7 separate regions of the Homo sapiens genome follow, and all the other regions are linked to region 1. Evidence: promoter capture Hi-C in 16 types of primary human blood cells and fetal thymus (Javierre and others, 2016). All regions are on one chromosome and are shown on one strand. Each heading gives the region's core, a stretch centred on a gene start or on the middle of the fragment in contact. The rest is flanking DNA. Distances are from core to core; before and after follow the strand shown. Region 1 holds the start of MRPL15 (mitochondrial ribosomal protein L15). Region 2 overlaps RB1CC1 (RB1 inducible coiled-coil 1). Region 3 overlaps LYN (LYN proto-oncogene, Src family tyrosine kinase). Region 4 overlaps RB1CC1 (RB1 inducible coiled-coil 1). Region 5 overlaps TMEM68 (transmembrane protein 68). Region 6 overlaps RB1CC1 (RB1 inducible coiled-coil 1). Region 7 overlaps RB1CC1 (RB1 inducible coiled-coil 1).

Region 1 (2,700 bases), core at 86-2,585:
GGTGAACGCCTGTAATCCCAGCTACTCAGGAGGCGGAGGCGGAAGAATTGCTTGAACCAGAGAGGCAGAGGTTGCAGTGAGCTGAGATTGAACCATTGCACTCTAGCCTAAGCAACAGAGCGAGACTCTGTCTCAAAATAATAATAATAATAATTCACTTTTGGAAACTGTTCCCTACTAGATTTCAAACAACTTGGGAATGAAATCCTATTTGAGTTCATCCATGTGTATTTCCAACAAGTTCAGTGTCTTACTTATAAATAGTACTTGAAGGAATGAATACAACTTTTTCTTTATGTAGTTATTTTACACTTGATTTAAAGGAACTTTAAAAAGACGCAGTTATACCTAGAGACAGACGCCCTCCAAAAATTGTCTCACCTTCATTATTTGTGATTACTAGTTAGAGCTAGCAGAAAAAACTCCCCAGCAAGTGAAATGTCAAACCACTACTAAAAGAAAGAAAAAGAAAGGAACAGTCTTTTCTATATTTAAGTCACTTGAGAGAAAAAAGAAGAGCTGGTATTTTTCGAGTAATAATGTTCGTATTTTGTGATGCAGATACTCAATTTTACATTCTAAAAATACTACTTTTATAGTAGGAAGCAGTGTACGTTTGAATCCTGGCTCTGCCGCTTGTTGCAAGAAGTTGGTCAAGCTATCGGACCTTGCTAAGCCTTCCCTGTTGTAACTGTAAAATGTAGTAACACCATTTACCTCTAGAATGGCTGTAAATCGAGTAAGGCTTATTTAATACAGCGTCTGGCATACACCAGGCATTCAGTATGGCGCCAGTCATTAACAATAGGTGGTTACTAACTGCGATTCACTCAAAACAATACAGATGCACACGGATGAGAGTTCACACTTTGAGTCTTATTCAAAGATTGGTTATTAGCCAGGCATTTTGATAGGTGCACTCAGTTTTATTTTCGTACCTCACGGTGTATAATTACGCAAGCTCAAAAGCTAATAATTGACAGCTCACTTTGCTTTACTCTGGGTTCTGCATTGACCTCAGAGAAGACACGGCCTAGACAAACAGGCAAGGCCCAACACTGACTCAAAAAAGATCCTTTATTTAACGCAGTGTTTTTAGTGCATGCTCTCGTTTGGCGAAAGAGAAGGTTTTACGTTCAGAATATTAAAAGGGACCCCGAGGACAAAGCAGGATCTCGGAAAATAAGATCACATCCCCAAACAACTAAAAGGACAACCGAGACAAGGTTGCAGACTCCCACGCCTCTGCCCGACTCCCGGGCTTGCGCGCGCGGCTGCAGCGCGACAGGGGCGGGGCCACGGCCACAAAGCAGCCCCCGAGACCACGTGGCCTCCGAGCAGCTCAGGGCGCCCTTGAAAGTTCTTGGATCTGCGGGTTATGGCCGGTCCCTTGCAGGGCGGTGGGGCCCGGGCCCTGGACCTACTCCGGGGCCTGCCGCGTGTGAGCCTGGCCAACTTAAAGCCGAATCCCGGCTCCAAGAAACCGGTAAATGGGTGGTGGCGGTGCGGGGAAGCGCTGGGGACCCGGGCGATGAAAGCGGCCCTTCTCTCCCTGTCATTAGGAGAACTGCCCTTTCTAGGAGAGTGTTGGGATGAAAATAGGATTGCCTCATGCCTGTTCTCCCTTACTGCCCAGAGGGGAATCTTTCCACGTGCACCCAGTTCTTTTTTTTTTTTTTTTTTTTTTTTCCGAGACGGAGGCTTGCTCTGTCGCCCAGAAGCAATTCTCCTGCCTCAGCCTCCCGATTAGCTGGGATTACAGGCGCCCGCCATCACGCCCGGCTAATTTTTGTATTTTTAGTAGAGACGTGGTTTCACCGTGTTGGCCAGGCTGGTTTTGAACTCCTGAGCTCGCGATCCGCCTGCCTCGGCCTCCCAAAGTGCTGGGATTACAGGCGTGAGCCACCGCCCCCGGCCGCACCCAGTTCTTAATAAGGTTATGTTTACAAGTGTAAAGATACCAGGCGGAGAAGCCGACTCGCTGAAACTACAAAGTCTTTGTGTCATTCAAAATTGGATTTAAAATGAAATGTTTTCCCGGTGTATCTTTATGTTCATTGGAAAGATCTGAATTGCAGCTGTCCCTTCTGCAGTTGACTAAATAGAGCTAGAAAAGCTGTTAGTTGACAATGTACTGTCATTTTAACAGTCAGTTCATTGCTTTCGTGAAATGACAGGAAATTAAGGAAAAGATTTTCTTCAACAGATCAGTTTTCAAATAAAATTACAGGTTTATGAATAACATTTGCATATTTACAATTAATTTCAGAATAAATTCTTGCCTATCATTTAAAATGTTGTGAATATTTAATTCTAGGATTTTTTTCGGTTTCAACCTATTATAAAAACCTTATCCCCATCCTAACCTTTACTTTTTGCTTTTGAAACACACTTGGACTTTGGTTACAAGAATTAGCTATGTCTTTAGAGGCAAAGATGCTAACAGAGTGTGTGGAGCTTTGAGCAACTAGGACATGCTTGACACAATAGTGTTAGCTAGCACTGGTGGGCTGGATGAATGAACAGCATAACAAAAAGTGAAGAGCTGAAATGCAGTTTTTAGAAATGCATCTGAAATTCATAAAATTCTTTTTTTTCCTTGCAGGAGAGAAGACCAAGAGGTCGGAGAAGAGGTAGAAAATGTGGCAGAGGCCATAAAGGAGAAAGGCAAAGAGGAACCCGGCCCCGCTTGGGCTTTGA
Region 2 (2,700 bases), core at 161-2,660, 1.5 Mb before region 1:
TTGATACTTTGGTTCTGAATAACTCAATTTTCATATTTATAAAAAAACCTACATATGATCTGACTAATATGCAGAATCTTAAGTTTATCTCATGGAGGCAGAGAGCAGAATAGTGGTTACCAGAGGCTGGGGAGAGTACAGAGGAGAGGAGATGAGGAGAGGTTGGTCAACGGGTACAAAGCTACAGCCAGATAGGAGGAATAAGTTTTGGTGTTCAATAATGTACTGCGCTATCTCAAAATAGCTAGAAAAGAGCATTTTGAATGTTCTCACCATAAAGAAATGATAAACGTTTGAGGTGATGGATTACTCTAATTTGAATGTACACATGTAACTACATCACACTGTAAACCATAAATATGTATAATTTATGTGTCAATCAAAAAAGCCTTAAATTCCTAAAGCTTTTTAAAGCCTTTTGCTTTGAATTGCTTTTATATTTTTCCCTTCTATATCTTTCTGAATCATATTATAGTAAACTTTCTGTATCATTTGGCTCTAGGTACCTCTCCTATATGTAGAATGAAGTTGGATATATTTTTTTAAAGAGGTTTTCATACGGTGGTTCACTTTTTTCACACATGTCCGGACATATTTATGTCATTCATGTTTGCTAAATAACCATGTTTTCTTGATTTGCTTAACCATGTTTTCTTGATTTGCTTTTTTGAATTACTTTTTTTGTTCTATTTTATTTTTAATATACATTCTTAAGCCTTATACCTTTCAAAGTCTAAAGGTAACCAGTTTCTATTATTTTCCTTTCAACCAGACAGAAACCTAAGTAATTTTATTTTTCAAAAACAAACAAACAAAAAACTCCCCTACCAAAGTTTCTCAAAGGTCAGGCAGATAATGGGCTTATATGAAGATGCAACTAACTGCGTTCCTCTGAGTGGGCAGGGGTGGGGTACGAAGGACCCTGCACTTACTGGTTTCTTACTGTGTACCACACCTTCTCACGGGTGCTCATTAAATTTAATGCCTGGCCGGGCGCGATGACTCACACCTGTAATCCCAGCACTTTGGGAGGCTGAGGTGAGTGGATCACCTGAGGTCAGGAGTTCGAGACCAGCCTGTCCAACATGGTGAAACCCCGTCTCTACTAAAAATACAAAAATTAGCCAGGCGTGGTGGCAGGCGCCTGTAATCCCGGCTATTCAGGAGGCTAAGGCAGAAGAATCACTTGAACCCAGGAGGCGGAGGTTGCAGTGAGCCGAGATTGTGCCATCACACTCCACCCTGGGGGATAAGAGTGAGACTTCATCTCAAAAAAAAAAAAAAAAAAAATTAAAATAAAATAAAATAAAATATTAATGCCCAAAGCAACCCTGCTGGTGTATCATAACTGTTGTCTTGTTATCATAACTGTTATCTTGATGGAAAAATAAGGGATGATGACTTGCTCAAGTTCCCAAGCAGGTGCTAGACTCAGGACTTGAACCTGGATCTGTTTGAACGAGGGGACCACGCTGATTCTATGATATCTTTTGGTAATCACTTGTTCGAATTACTTCATCTCACATGGGGGTGTAGTGTTCACTGACCCACTGGGCATAATTCTTTGTGTGGCATAATGATCTGGACTTTCTGCCCTTGGAATCTCAGTTCCCATATCTGAAATCCCAGAGGTGCAACTAGAAATGCAAACTCTACTTGCAACGTCCTTTGGAGAGGAGCACTTTCTCCTCCCAATTCTGTCTCTCCCATAGATATAATTGTAAGCACAATTTTAGTGGTCTTTCACTATATTCAAAGGAGAACTGGTAAGAAAGTTCTAAATTCCAGTAAGCTCTGCCACGATTTCAATGTAATGCAGTAAACATTTGCTATATATGAATAAACAAATAATAATAATAATAATAAAAAACCCTTCCCTGCTTTTCCTCACCAAAATGAATATATTCATTACTACAATAACCCCTTTATAGGTAATGGACCCCAAAATGTCAACATTCCCTGTAAATAAGAATGGCTCAATACTACTGCCATGATCCTTATCTTGGCAGTATGGGATAATTCTGGTGCACATACTTTGTATAGTATGAGAGTACCCCAAAATAATTCATTCAGTAATGTTTTCTCACACTTACAGTTTAAAGAATTAAAATAGCACAACTTTCAGATACATGGGCTGTGGACAACCAGTAATGCTAAAAATATTTCCTCTCTTCAGAGCTTTATAACTCATGGAATTGCAACAGCCTTAAAAACAGTTGAAAACAGCCATACTTACTGTACAGACATCATGCTTGTCTCCATTGCTGAATCCACTCTTCCTTCATCTGCTGTTTCCACAGCGGATCTATCTGATTCACCTGGGAGTTCAGGTGCACAAGCTCCATAAAGTTCTGGGGCTGTAGCTACATATGGTGAAGGAACAAAACTGCTACTACGCAACTTACTGACTTCTTCTTCAAGCTTTTTCTTTTCCTCAAGCAAACGAGCTCGATCTTCAGAAAGTGACTCTATCAAATCTGAAGGACACCCAAATTTAAAAAAGTATCATGTAATTAAAAAAACCACTTTGCATGAATGTATCTTTTCCACTTTAAAAAATTAAAAAAAATAGTACAAAACAGTACAAACCTTTATCCCGTTCTTGTTGCTGCATTGTACTTTTCAACTTATCACTAAGATCATTTATTATGTTTTCTTTTCTCATTTTCTCTCTTGTTAAAACAGTGTTAAAATTGGTCT
Region 3 (2,700 bases), core at 53-2,552, 1.9 Mb after region 1:
CAAATGAGGGATCTCCAGGAAGGAAGTGAAAGAGATATTCCAAACTGAGTGTGCAGGTCCAATTGCTATTTATATCATACTGGATGTTAGTCCTCCCACCACGATCCCAGAATTTCACCCAAGAAAGCAGAAGTATACACAAATCTTTCTTCTGAAATTTATCCAAGTTATAAGAGCCAGAGCAATGCTGAGGCCATATCATTTTGTGGAGACTAAAACTCCCAAATAAAGAGGATGATACAAATCTGTCTTTCGCTTTAAGCAATGAAAATCAAATGAAGTATTTTAGTTAGAAAATTCTAGTCACACAAATATTTGAAGATAGTGTTTCAGAATTAGACTCAGGAAAATGGATTTGCTGTATAAATTCTCAAGAGATCTGAATCATTATAAAGTTTGCTTAGATCTTTCAATTTCAAAAACAAGGGCTCTTCCACGACAGAAATGATCATGTCTTCTTTCAGCGGTTTAAATTCAGGAAAGGTCACTGTGTCCTTAGATGAAAAAAGGTAAGTTAAAGGCAGAGGATCTCAAAGTTTATTGGCCATAAGCCATTGTGGGAAATACATAGAAACCTACTCTGTACATAAAGCAAACGTTTCATAAAACCATATTGACCTTTCCTATGTGCAGTGCTTTCTGACCTTTTCTGTTTTATTCTGTTATAATTCATTTTAAAAAATACTGGTAATTGGCTGGATGCAGTGGCTCCCGCTTTTAATCCAGCACTTTGGGAGGCCGAGACAGGCAGACGACTTCAGGTCAGGAGTTTGAGACCAGCCTGGCCAACATGGTGAAACCCCGTCTCTACTAAAAATACAAAAATTAGCCGGGCATGGTAGTGGGCACCTGTAATCCCAGCTACTTGGGAGGCTGAGGCAGGAGAATCGCTTGAACCTGGGAGGCGGAGGTTGCAGTGAGCCAAGATCGCTCCACTGCACTCCAGCCTAGGTGAAAGAGGGAGACTCTGCCTCAAAAAAAAAATAAAATAAAATAAAATAAAATAAAATACTGGTAGTACTCTAAAAAAGTCAATTTGTTGATCCCAAATTGTTGATCCCAAATGCGGATAGTGCCCCGCAATTTGAAAAACACTGATTAGAAAATACATTCAAAAGAAGGTTCTGTTTCAAATCTGGTAAAAAGCCATTTCCCCTGAAGCTGCCACTTATTTAGAATCCTTCCAGTGACCAGTGATGGTATAATCTACAGCTTTGAAAAAGAGATAGCTATGGAAAGGAAATTCGTTGTGAGGAATGGAGCCCCTCTCATATGCCAGATATTGTATATACTTTGCATGACATACATTCTTCTCTAGAGAAGTTCACATCCTACAGAACAGGGTATCCATGAAATATGCAAAACATACAGGTGTGGATAGATACTGCTAGATGAGCACATAATTGAAGGATTAATCTCCTTTATCATGCAGGAAAATGTTATTATTATAATGATCTTTTTTACCCTTTAAAGCTATTCTCAGGATCAAAGATTGACAGTTCAGCTTCTGAATTACCCTGAGACATTTGACCACATTAAAAACATTCTCTATTACCAGGCCTTTTGCAGAGCTCTAGAGGAGTAATGAGCACCTTACTTCTCTCCTGGAGGTCAGGAATATGCAAATCCAGAGTCAGAGTGAGCTGTCACTCTGGCCAGGTACTGCAGATTGGAACAGTTAACTGCGTCTGTGAAGTAGCTCCACTTGAGACTATGATTGGGGTTCAGTTTTCCTCCTCAATTAATATCTTGCTCTTAAAAGACAGTGACATCCACAAGATATGTAGCACAAACTACAGACAAGTGTCCTTCAGATTAACTGAACCATCATTATTTTCCAAATTAATCCCTAAGTTTTTAACTATTTGGCAAGCATGTAACCAATTTGTTGGGCTGACTTAAGGGTGCTGACTTTAAGTAAATGAAAATACCAATTATTAAATGAAAAGCCAATTTTTGAAAAATGTCCGTATAAGATAATATGTGGTAAAATTATTTTTTTCATAAATATACTACAAGTTGAAGCTGAAAGCATGCTACCCTGCAAACATAATTAAAGTTGAGAGTTAGGATTAGATTTGGGTGATTTATTTGAAATGTGAGGCAAGTCCAATATCCTTTTGTTATTAAAGAGAACTTGGCTGTGGCTCCTACTTAACAAATTTTGGCAAACTGAATGCTGTCTTGATCCCCTCCATGCTAAATTTATTTATTGAGTTGCTTGCAGAAATTTCCTTAGCTTCTATATTAGTTGGCAAGGGCTGCCATAACAATACAACACACTGGGTAATTTAAACAACAGACGTTTATTTTTCCGGGGTTCTGGAGTTTCAAAGTCCAAGGTCAAGGTGCTAGCCAGGTTGATTTCTCCTGAGGCCTCTCTCCTGGACTTGTAGATGGCTGCCTCCTCCCTGTGTCTTCACATGGTCTTTCCCCTATACTAGTCTGTGTTCTAATCTCCTCTTATAAGGATACTAGTCATATTGGATTAAGACCTACCCAAATGGCCTCATTTTAACTTAGTTACCTCTATAAAGGCCTTATCTCTAAATATGGTGCTGTCAATTCTGAGGTGTACGCGGGGTTAGGACTTCAACCTAGGAATTTTGGGAGGATGCTGTTCAACCCCTAACAGCCTCAGTAAAGCTTGTTTCAATCATGGTTACAGGATGTGAGGAGCAAAAAGACCACTGCAGTGCT
Region 4 (2,700 bases), core at 25-2,524, 1.4 Mb before region 1:
CATTCCAGCTGGTTGGCAGAGTGAGACTCAAAAAAAAAGAAAAGAAGAAGAAAAAAATGTAGATAAAACAAGAAAACAACTTTCTTCATCAATACATGTCTGTCTAAATTTCCATTCTCTAATCTGTAAATGGGGATATTTATCATACCTACCTCATATGGCTGTTGCAGAAAAAAAAAAGAAATCACAGTAAATATTCCCAAAATGTTCTCTAGGGACAGGAAGTAACTCTGTGACATAACACAAAGCACTCAAAAGCATCTGTTGAATAAACAGGGTTTCATAAGCAAATGTACTCTTGGGGTTCTAGTAGCAGTACTCTAAGCAAATGACAAAGCAGAATCCAAATAGTAACTTAGTAACAGAGAGAGATCACATGCAGGTAGCTAATTTTCAGCAGTTTCTTTATCAGCCAATGTGTTCCCAGTATCTTATATTAAAAAAAAAAAAGTAATCAACTTGGTTTAATATATTTTAACATCATATATGAATAAGTACTCCTTGGTTCCACATAAACAGTTACTAAGTATGTGTATCCTCTCTTCCACCTTATTCCCATTAAGCTATCTAATTCAGATCTTCCTACTGCATATCGGGCTCTAACAATTACCTATCTGAGCACCTACTATCTGCAGATTCCATCTCAGATGACACCACCAACTACATAATCTTAGATTCTTTTAATGTTTACTTCTCCCCAAACTAAAAATGCTTCATAACTTCTACTCAAGTATAAATTCCTTAGACTGACACTCCACTATTTCCTTTATTTGGGTCCCTACATGAAGCTCCATACCATTTAGGCTGATCTCCTGAAATGAGGTGCATGAATAAATGGATTTTCATGCCTCTACTCATGTCATTCCACAGCTTCCATTATGTAACCAAGAATTCACAAATATTCTGTCGTAAAGTCTTCCTCAATGTACTGGCTGTCAGTGGTCTTGTTCCTGAAGTACTGACAGCCCATACTTCAAATTCCAACTATTCAAGTAAGTGTTGGTATTCAGAACATAAATAAATGCCCTGCTACACTTTTTTGCCACTTGCCAAATAACTTACATCGCCCAAGCTGTATTGCAAATGGCTAAAAAAAATTTTGGTCATGACATATCATACCTCAATACCTAACATACTACCTAGAGACAGTAAACAGTCAATAAATGTTTGCGGTCAAAACCATGGATAAGGACTACGGCAACCAAAACTGAAATCAGAAAGTTGCTCAGAGAGAATCCACAGGAACACTGTCGCTATTTATTCACAAGACTGTATACTTTATGTTACATACTCCTATATGCTATCAAAATAACATGATCCCATGAAACTGAATTCTCTCCTTTGTATGCCACAATTGTTAAAAAACATTCAGCAAAAAGGGACATCAGTAACCAAGTACATATTTGGTCACCCTGAAATAAAAAATACTTGGAAAGAAATAAGAGATCTGGTTTTTAGTCCTAGCTTCACATCTTTACTCCTGTGATTTCAGGAGTTATCCAATTTCTCTGAATCTCAGTTTCGTCATCTTAAAACATAAAGGGGTACACTAGATTATTCTTCTGATCTTCTATAAATAGTCAAATCATACATTAAACATGAGTCTAACACACTGAACAAATACTAATTTTAAGAAACTTATTGTGTGTTAGTGCCAAAAAGTAATAAAAAGCACATTACCTGCCTTCCAAAAAGTTCAATAATACTAATATGAAGAGAGGTATGCAAAAGTTAGACTGAGAAAGAATGGACAAGAATTCACACAAAGGTGACATTAAAAAAAAAAAAAAAAAAACACAAAAGTATATGTAAAATCAAGTTCCAACTAGAAACTGACAGTTTACCCTCACTGATCACATTACTAAAACTTAAGAGGATAAACTTAATAAACCAATGATTTCTTTTAAGAAAACAATCATTAAAAGGAGCTAATTCTTTTATTAACTTGCAACTTTGGGAATGCTTATTATGTACATGTACCCCTAATTTACGTAAAGTCCATTAAATCCTGTAAGTGGGTTGACTCTCTATGATCTAGAACTAAAGTTATTGCATGTAATTGTTAAGTAAGGTACAAGCACAGAAATCAACTGCTATTCAAGGAATTATAAAGTAACTTTATAAGCCTTATATAAATAAGCCTAGTACATAAGTATTACTTTTCACCAAATAGTCACGATTTCCTAAAATCTGACTTGATGCTCATTTTATATAAAGTCCTTCTTAACTTTTATAAAATGAAACCATATTTAATACTATACAAGTTAACACAAGCCAATTCTAAATTAAAAGTAACAGGTTAGTAACTCAACAACTGACACAAGATTTTCTTAAATTATTTGACCCTCTGCTTAAACAGTCTTTAGTTTCTACCCACTAAGAATTACTATAAACTGCCTACCATATATACTGAGACTTCGTAGGACAGAACAACTGTCAAAACATGTCAAACATACTCATAACTCACACGGTAGTTAACAAGTTAGTAGGAATCATGATGCATTAATAAACATAATGCATGAAACTGAACAGATCCAAATTGATCTTTATACATGCATACCTGCACTTGTGTATCTATACAATAATGGTGGGATTTCAAATTGGGGAGAAAGGATCAACTTTTCATGCAATGGTATTATGACAAATGGCTATCCATAGCATGAAGAAAAATAAACTATCTGGAGGTACATATTCACTAAT
Region 5 (2,700 bases), core at 55-2,554, 1.6 Mb after region 1:
ATTAACTATTGCTATCATCATTATTATTCGCTTGCTTGTGAAAAAATAAGAGTTGCAGGAAGAACAGGTTTGAGGGTGGGATGGAGATCAGGAATTCCATTTTAAACATGTTAAGTTTAAGATGTCTATTGGACATCCAAGTGAAGACATTAAGTAGGCAGCCGGACATCAGCAGTTTAGCAGGAAGATCAGGAGGAGGATACAGGGTATAAGTGGATGGCCCTGATATAAATCTAGGAATTGGTAGCATATAGACAATATTTAAAACCATGGAACTAGAGAAGATCCCTCCAGGGAACGAATATAGAGTAAAAAAGAATTTCTGGCCAGGCACAGTGGCTCACACCTGTAAACCCAGCACTTTGGGAGGCCGAGGCGGGAGGATCACCTGAGGTTAGGAGTTCGAGACCAGCCTGACCAACATGGAGAAACCCCGTCTCTACCAAAAATACAAAATTAGCCGGGCGTGGTGTCGCACGCCTATAGTCCCAACTACTTGGGAGGCTGAGGCAGGAGAATCGCTTGGACCTGGGAGGCGGAGGTGCAGTGAGCCGAGATCATGCCACTGCACTCCAGCCTGGGCAACAACAGCGAAACTCAGTCTCAAAAAAAAAAAAGAATTTCCAGGACTGAGTCTTGAGGCACCCAACATTTTAGAAGTTGGGAAGACAATGGCAAGCCAGCCTCCTCCTTGCAGAAGCAGTATCCTGGAAGTAAGAGCTTCAAGAAGGAAGGCATATTCTGCTGTTTTAAATGCTGTTGACAGGCCTAGTAAGGTAAGAGATCACTTCCTTCCTGTAGGAGACAGCTTTAAAAAAAAAAAAAAAATGATAATTGATCACTGGATTTTACAACACAAAGGAAACTGGCAAACCCTGGTAAGAGCTGTTTTTGTATAGTAGGAAACAAAACACTTTGGACAGGAGAGGACAGAAGCAGCTCCCCTTTACCCTTGAAGTTCAAGAATGAATGGGAGAAAATGAATTGGAAACAGCAAATATAAAAACTCACAAAGGAGGAAAGAAACAGGTGGGTATCTAGAAGGGAACACAGGTGAGTTGTTCCTTGCTGCTGCTGCTGCAGCTGTTGCTTTAAGACAGAGGCCAGGCATGGTAACTCACACCTGTAATCTCAGCACTTTGGGAGACTGAGGCAAGAGGATCGCTTGAAACCAGAAGTTCAAGACCAGCCAGGCAATATAGTAAAAACTCATCTCTAAAAAAAAAATTTAGGCCAGGTGCGGTGGCTCACACCTGTAATCCCAACACTTTGGGAGGCCAAGTAGGGGCAGATCACTTGAGGCCAGGAGTTCAAGACCAGCCTGGGCAACACAGTGAAACCCCATCTCTACTAAAAATGCAAAAATTAGCCAGGTGTGGTGATGCATTCCTGTAATCTCAGCTACTCGGGAGGCTGATGCACAAGAATGGCTTGAACCCAGGAGGTGGAGAGTGCAGTGAGCCGAGATCATGCCACTGCACTCCAGCCTGGACAACAGAGTGAGACTCTGCTCAAAAAGAAAAAAAAATTAAAAATTAGCCGGGCATGGTGACATGTACCAATGATCCCAGCCACTTGGGAGGCTGAAGGGGGAGGATCACTTGAGCCTGGGAGGTAGAAGCTGCAGTGAGTAATGATCAAGCCACTGCACTCCAGCCTCAGTGAAAGAGCAAGAGACTCTGTCTTTAAAAAAAAAAAAAAAAAAAAAAAGGGCCAGGCACAGTGGTTCATGCCTGTAATCCCAGCACTTTGGGAGGCCAAGGCGGGTGGATCACTTCAGGTCAGGAGTTTGAGACCAGCCTGGCCAACATGGTAATGCCGTCTCTACTAAAAACACAAAAATTAGCCAGGCATCATGGTGCATACCTGTAGTCTCAGCTACTTGGGAGGCTGAGGCACTAGAATTGCTTGAACCCGGGAGGCAGAGGTTATATAAGCCGAGATTCTGACAGTGCACTCCAGCCTCAGGGACAGAATGAGAATCCCATCTCAAAAAAAAAAAAAAAAAAAGATAGGAGAAAATACACCCATGTTCAATGTCAACGATAATTCATCAATGGGAGTGAGAAACAGATGATGTAGGAGAGGAGATAATTGTTAGAGCTCTGTCCTTGACTAGGCCAAAGGGGACAGGATACAATGTACAAGTGGATGGCCCTGAGAAGTTTGTGCCAGATACTATTCTAAATATATCAGTAAATAAAATAGTTATCTAAGAAAACATACGAAAAACACTTACTTTCTGGCACATAGTAGGCACCTAACAAATGCTGGCTAAATATACAACTGAACTGTGTTCGTCTAAAACTTTTTTTTTTTGAGACAGAGTCTCACTCTGTCACCCAGGCTGGACTGCAGTGGCTCGATTTCAGCTCACTGCAACCTCCACCTCCCAGGCTCAAGCAGTTCTCATACCTCAGCCTCCCGTGTAGCTGGGACTACAGGCAAGCACCACTGCACCCAGCTAATTTTTGTATTTTTAGTAGAGATGGGGTTTTGCCATGTTGGCCAGGCTTGTCTGGAACTCCTGGCCTCAAGTGATCCGCCCGCCTCCACCTTCCAAAGTGCTCGGATTGCAGGCGTGAGCCACCCTGCTTGGCCTCATCTAAATCTTTAACAGAAATCTGGATCAAAACAGTATCCTAAAACCTGCTACTAGAGAACTATCAGAGGAATTTGAATAAAATGCCTTTCAGTAGA
Region 6 (2,700 bases), core at 126-2,625, 1.5 Mb before region 1:
TGTAACTTCTCATCATTTTCAACATGGAGCTTTTTTAAGTCTTCTAACACTATTTCTCGTGACTGCTTCAGTTCTTTAATTTCACAATTTTGAGAGTGCATTATATTTTCCATCTCTAACAACTTCTGATCCTTTTCATTCTGCAGGCAGATTACAGCTTCTTTTTCATGTTTAACCAAAGCAAATTCATTATCTTTATTTTGTAAAACCTCCTCAAGGCATACTAACTCTCCCTTCAATTTTTTAATTTTGTTTTCATTCTCTTCAGTTTCCTTTATTAGTCCGTCAAGTTTACCTTCATATTCATTTTTTAAAGACAGTAGTTCTTTTTGATGTTTTTCTTTTAGTGTTATTTCCAGAGAACATTTTACTTTTTCAATAATGTTTCTTATTTCTACTGCTGTACATTTTAATGAATTTGAGAAGTCACACTGTTCTTTTTGTACAAATGTTCTAAAGTGGCAAAGGTCTTCCTTAATGGTTTGTATACTGAAGTGAGAGTCTTGGGCAACAACTCTACATCTTTCCAACTGGACATTCAGAGAAGTATGATCTCCAAAATCCTCCTTACCACATACATTTGTATCCTGCATTCGTCTACTGTCTATCGCATTGATAACTGATGAATAAAGTGATTCCACCATCATTTCTGGGCTTTGTGGATCACTTATAGGATTAGGAGACGACAAATTTTCTTCTATTACAAACTCATTCACAGCAGACATAAAATCTGATTCAGGACTTTCTGCTAATGAATCCAAGTCTAAAGAAACTTGGTGAATAGTCTGTTCTATGTTTGGATGGGGAATAGTTTCAAAATCAAACGTATGTGCATCAATACTATCTGGAGATAATTCTTCTAAGGGACAAACTGCAGGACATAAGGGATCCTGAACAGTCAGTGGTGGAGGAGTTCTCGGTGAGGTAGTAGTTGTAATTCCTGCTGTACTTTCCATCCTTGGTGAAGAAGCAGACTGTGGGGATGTCTGACTCACAGATGCCTGGAAAACAGAAAGAAAGGCTTAAAGAGCTGCAGGAACACAAACATTTTACACTAATGAAGAAAACTGTTTGAAAGAATTGAATTTGCCTTTTGTTCACTCAGTAGATCTGTAATGGTCTGTGACATTTCATCCAAACTTTGTGCTGCTTTTACCAAATTATGTAGAGCAAGTACATGCTGGTGTAGAGGTTCAAAGTCACAAAGTAAGGGAACCCTGAAACAGAATGCAATGCAATTAGACTTCTGATTTTTTAATGAACTAGTAGATAACTGCTACCAAATATTTTAATATGTCAAAAATAACAAGAGCCTTATCATTCCTTTTTAAATTAATACCAGAAGTATTTTAAGAAGTTTGTGTCATAATCAGTAAAGTAAAAACTTAGGGCCGGGCGTGGTGGATCACACCTATAATCCAAGCACTTTGGGAGGCCTAGGCGGGTGGATCATGAGGTCAGGAGTTCGAGACCAGCCTGGCCAACATGGTGAAACCACATCTCTACTAAAAATACAAAAATTAGCAGGGCATGGTGGTGGGCTCCTGTAATCCCAGCTACTCAGGAGGCTGAGGCAGGAGAACTGCTGGAACATGGGAGGTGAAGGTTGCAGTGAGCCAGTATCACACCATTGCACTCCAGCCTGGGCGAGAGAGCGAGACTCCGTCTCAAGAAAAAAAAAAAAAAAAAAAAAAGTAAAAAGTCAGAAATTTCCCAACAGCATGCAAAAAGTAACTACTAGAAAAAAATAATTACATGTAAGGCATGTCTTCCTTTACTTTACCTTCATTTTCCATCATTTTTTATTCCCCAGAAATTTCTCAAAGCAGTCACAGGAAAGCCAGTCTATCTTAAATATTTCTTATCTTGGCACCTCTTAAGATTACTGGTACTACCTGGCACAACTCCAGAATAATAAAAACATTTTAAGGTTATAAATTAACTGAAAATACTAATGACATTTACCTGAGGAATGGCTGAACTTCCGAAGGACAAAATGATTGCAGAAACTGTAAATCTTTTAATGAAATATCTGGAAGTTCACAGTCAAACTTTCGAGGCTTTTGAGTCTGTACCAAAAAAATTAATTACTTAAAAAATTTTTTTTCAACCAAAAACAGACAGCAAATTTATATGATTTCTTACTATAATTAAATTTACTATACCAAACAAACTAAAGTGCTTTAAATGATTAAGAAACAAAAAAAGACCATTCAATAAAGATATGGCATATTATTTTCCTGAGCCTTTAGTAAACTGCGACGTGAACTGCTAGTGATCAAGGGATGCACTTGTTCCTCCCCTTCTCTGCTTTTAGCATCATTTTATGGGAATTACAATATTCCTATCCTGTATGTGTATGTATGTACATATACATATGGTAAACACATATGTAAGTGTGTGCGTATATATATAATATTTACCATGTTAAAGCCACTAATATATTAAAATGCACACATGTATTTTTTTTCCATGTAACACTTTCTTATTTGCTTTTGCCTTGACTTTTCCATTACATTTTCCAGAAGACAAAGTTTTGGTCAATTTTAGCTTCTGTAAAAAATATTAACCGGTAAATCCTACCAATTCATTATTTATAAAATTGCCAAGAGTTGCATTAAAAAAAAACTTGTTTTAAATCATTACTCAAGCAGATGTGGAGATGCCAAGATGCTCTTCATAAAAAAGAGTTCTCGGATA
Region 7 (2,700 bases), core at 127-2,626, 1.5 Mb before region 1:
TAATGAACAGGGAGGATGAAAACTGATGGGGAGAAAGTCCTAAGTAGGGCTTCTGGGTTGAAACTATTTGTTTTTGTGGGGTTTTGTGTGTGTGTGTGTGTGTGTGTGTGTTTTTTTTTTTTTTTGAGATGAAGTCTCACTCTGTCACACAGGCTGGAGTGCAGTGGTGCGATCTTGGCTCACTGCAACCTCTGCCTCCTGGGTTCAAGCAATTCTCCTACCTCAGCCTCCCGAGCAGCTGGGACTACAGGCACATGCCAGCATGCCCGGCTAATTTTTGCATTTTTTTTTTAAGTAGAGACAGGGTTTCACCATATTAGTCAGGCTGGTCTCAAACTCCTGACCTCATGATCCGCCTGCCTTGGCCTCCCAAAGTGCTGGGATTACAGGCATAAGCTACCACACCTGAAACTATTTTTATCAATGTGTTCATTGTGAAAATTCACTAAGAATGGATGTACAATTATGGTTTGTGCATTTTTCAGTATATCTCAATAAACAAAAATCTATTCTTAAATTTACCAATAAGGTAAATGAGTAAAAGGTCACACCACAGGTAAATGAAGTAATCAGACATAAACTCAGAAAATCTGACTTTAGAGACCACATCCCGGACCATGAAGAAATATCACCTCTAATTCCTCACATAATGAATTGATTAGACCTATGTTACTGTTTTGGTTATAGCAGCTTTAGAATTTGTTTTATAAATCTGAAAAGAGGGCAGGCATGGTGGCTCAATGTATTTTATAAATCTGAAAAGAGGCCAGGTATGCTGATTCACGCCTATAATCCCAGCACTTAGGGAGGCCAAGACAGGAGGATCATTTGAGCCCAGGAGTTTGAGACCAACCTCGGCAACGCAGTGAGATCCTGTCTCTATATAATAAGTCAATAAAATACCTAATGTAAATGACAAGTTGACGTTGGGGAACCACCGCCTAGATTTCAGAAGATGTACGGAAACGCCTAGATGCCCAGGTAAGTTTGCTGCAGGGGCAGGGCCCTCATGGAGAACCTGTTAGGGCAGTGTAGAAGGAAAATGTGGGGTCGGAGCCCCCACACAGAGTCCCTACTGGGGGCACTCCCTAGTGGAGCTCTGAGAAGAGGGTCACGGTCCTCCAGACCCCAGAATGGAAGACCCACCAACAGCTTGCACTGTGCACCTGGAAAAGCCACAGACACAACGCCAGCCTGTGAAAGCAGCCGGGAGGGAGGCTGCACCCTGCAAAGCCACAGGGACAGAGCTGCCCCAAGTCCATGGGAACCCACCTCTTGTATTAGTGAGACCTAGATGTGAGACCTGGAGTCAAAGGAGATGATTTTGGAGCTTCAAAACTTGGCTGCCATGCTGGATTTCGAACTTGCATGGGACCTGTAACCCCTTTGTTTTGGCCAATTTCACCTTTCGCCTCCTGCCATAATTCCGAGGCCTCTTCAGCCACGAGGAACTGTTAAGTCCAATTAAACCTCTTTTTCGTCCCAGGCTCGGGTTATGTCTTTATCAGCAGCATGAAAACAGACTGATATAGAATGCTTGGTATCTGAATCTCAGATTACTATTTATGTATTTAAAAAATATTTTAAATATGATGCATTAAAAGAGAAATAATGCCAGCTTATATTTAATTCCTGATATACGTATTTCTGACATTTTATCTTTTCTTTTTACTTTCTTGTTTTCATTCTTTCGTTGAATATAGTTTTAATTGCTCTTTCTAATCACTTGAAAATTATATATCCTAGTTATCCTTTAACTTATTTTCATATTTAATACTTTCTCTATCAAAATGTAGTATGTACACTTTTCAACCAAATCAAAAAAACAACTCTAAAAGATTCTATTATGTAAATTCAGTTTACATAAGTATATTTTTTAAAATTTTGTCCTCTCAAAGCACTTTTGGACTCTCAAATGTTTATTAAATATGTTTCACACAGATGAGGTTATTTCCTTTTAATGTTGTATCCTATGTGAAAAATGGGGGTATTTGTACAAATGTATATACTGCTTAAAACAAATCTCTAAGAGTTTTACTAATTAAAGCTAATGTTCAGTAATGTTATTTATTTTTACAAAAGGTAAATACTATTATTTCATTGGTTCTAACACATTTTTTCCATGATTAAAAGAAAAATGTAGCTTACCACTGATAGCTTAATGTCAATGATATTACTAGAAGGTAAATAGTAAATTAAAAAGGAAAATCAAATGACTGGGAAACAATCCGTGGGAACTGCAAGTAGCAGTGTTAAGAGCTATATATTAGAAAGAAACCTAATTCTCCTCCAGGAACTAACCACAAATATGGAAAAAATAAATACATTTTTAGAGCTATTTAAGTTCTCTTTGTTAACATCTACTCTAACGTAGGTCCTTTATTAATTAATGTTCAAAAGTAACTATTTACATATTATCTAGGAAAGAAGGTGACCAAATCATGTTAAGACAGCTTTTCCACTCTAAAATACTGTCATTATCAAAGTAGAATAACTAGCAATGTATGACCCAGAAATTTTAAAACTAGATATATTAACCGGAAAATATTTTTAAAGTTTATTTGTCAAACTTTTTGCATACTTCCTATGCAATTTAGACTACTGTGCTATTTAGATCCGAATGCTTTTAGAAACAATCAGTTAAAATAATTGTTTATATCTTACCAATGCAAGCTGTGTCCTTGAAGCAACAGTATGAAA

The links. Contacts are between HindIII fragments. The CHiCAGO score rates a contact against its expected background, and 5 or more counts as called.
Region 2: a contact is called between a fragment that was not itself captured here and the fragment with the promoter of MRPL15 in region 1, in 1 of 17 cell types (non-activated CD4 T cells). The highest score is 5.5, in non-activated CD4 T cells.
Region 3: a contact is called between a fragment that was not itself captured here and the fragment with the promoter of MRPL15 in region 1, in 1 of 17 cell types (M2 macrophages). The highest score is 5.1, in M2 macrophages.
Region 4: a fragment that was not itself captured here is called in contact with the fragment with the promoter of MRPL15 in region 1 in 5 of 17 cell types (naive CD8 T cells, non-activated CD4 T cells, total CD8 T cells and 2 more); the score reaches 8.1 in naive CD8 T cells.
Region 5: a contact is called between a fragment that was not itself captured here and the fragment with the promoter of MRPL15 in region 1, in 1 of 17 cell types (total CD4 T cells). The highest score is 5.9, in total CD4 T cells.
Region 6: a fragment that was not itself captured here is called in contact with the fragment with the promoter of MRPL15 in region 1 in 1 of 17 cell types (naive CD8 T cells); the score reaches 8.9 in naive CD8 T cells.
Region 7: a contact is called between a fragment that was not itself captured here and the fragment with the promoter of MRPL15 in region 1, in 1 of 17 cell types (non-activated CD4 T cells). The highest score is 6.6, in non-activated CD4 T cells.

What each region holds. Positions count from the first base shown.
Region 1 is chr8:54,133,906-54,136,605 of GRCh38, forward strand. MRPL15 (mitochondrial ribosomal protein L15) reads left to right here and starts at 1,336. Exons shown (of 5, transcript NM_014175.4): 1 at 1,336-1,486; 2 at 2,606-2,700. The coding sequence starts at 1,379. The HindIII fragment of the contact is 13,913 bases long and covers 1-2,700 here.
Region 2 is chr8:52,640,115-52,642,814 of GRCh38, forward strand. RB1CC1 (RB1 inducible coiled-coil 1) reads right to left here. Exons shown (of 24, transcript NM_014781.5): 17 at 2,590-2,698; 18 at 2,237-2,477. Among named protein-coding and RNA genes, the nearest start is that of RB1CC1, 73 kb to the right of the region's middle. The HindIII fragment of the contact is 2,017 bases long and covers 403-2,419 here.
Region 3 is chr8:56,007,145-56,009,844 of GRCh38, forward strand. The region is part of intron 12 of LYN (LYN proto-oncogene, Src family tyrosine kinase); the gene reads left to right. Among named protein-coding and RNA genes, the nearest start is that of SNORD54, 65 kb to the right of the region's middle. The HindIII fragment of the contact is 2,684 bases long and covers 1-2,644 here.
Region 4 is chr8:52,702,680-52,705,379 of GRCh38, forward strand. The region is part of intron 1 of RB1CC1 (RB1 inducible coiled-coil 1); the gene reads right to left. Among named protein-coding and RNA genes, the nearest start is that of RB1CC1, 10 kb to the right of the region's middle. The HindIII fragment of the contact is 8,152 bases long and covers 1-2,700 here.
Region 5 is chr8:55,767,332-55,770,031 of GRCh38, forward strand. All of the region lies in intron 1 of TMEM68 (transmembrane protein 68), which reads right to left. Among named protein-coding and RNA genes, the nearest start is that of TMEM68, 4.7 kb to the right of the region's middle. The HindIII fragment of the contact is 6,579 bases long and covers 1-2,700 here.
Region 6 is chr8:52,656,908-52,659,607 of GRCh38, forward strand. RB1CC1 (RB1 inducible coiled-coil 1) reads right to left here. Exons shown (of 24, transcript NM_014781.5): 13 at 1,966-2,069; 14 at 1,091-1,217; 15 at 1-1,001. Among named protein-coding and RNA genes, the nearest start is that of RB1CC1, 56 kb to the right of the region's middle. The HindIII fragment of the contact is 4,310 bases long and covers 1-2,700 here.
Region 7 is chr8:52,680,885-52,683,584 of GRCh38, forward strand. It overlaps RB1CC1 (RB1 inducible coiled-coil 1), which reads right to left. Exons shown (of 24, transcript NM_014781.5): 5 at 2,665-2,700. Among named protein-coding and RNA genes, the nearest start is that of RB1CC1, 32 kb to the right of the region's middle. The HindIII fragment of the contact is 3,785 bases long and covers 1-2,700 here.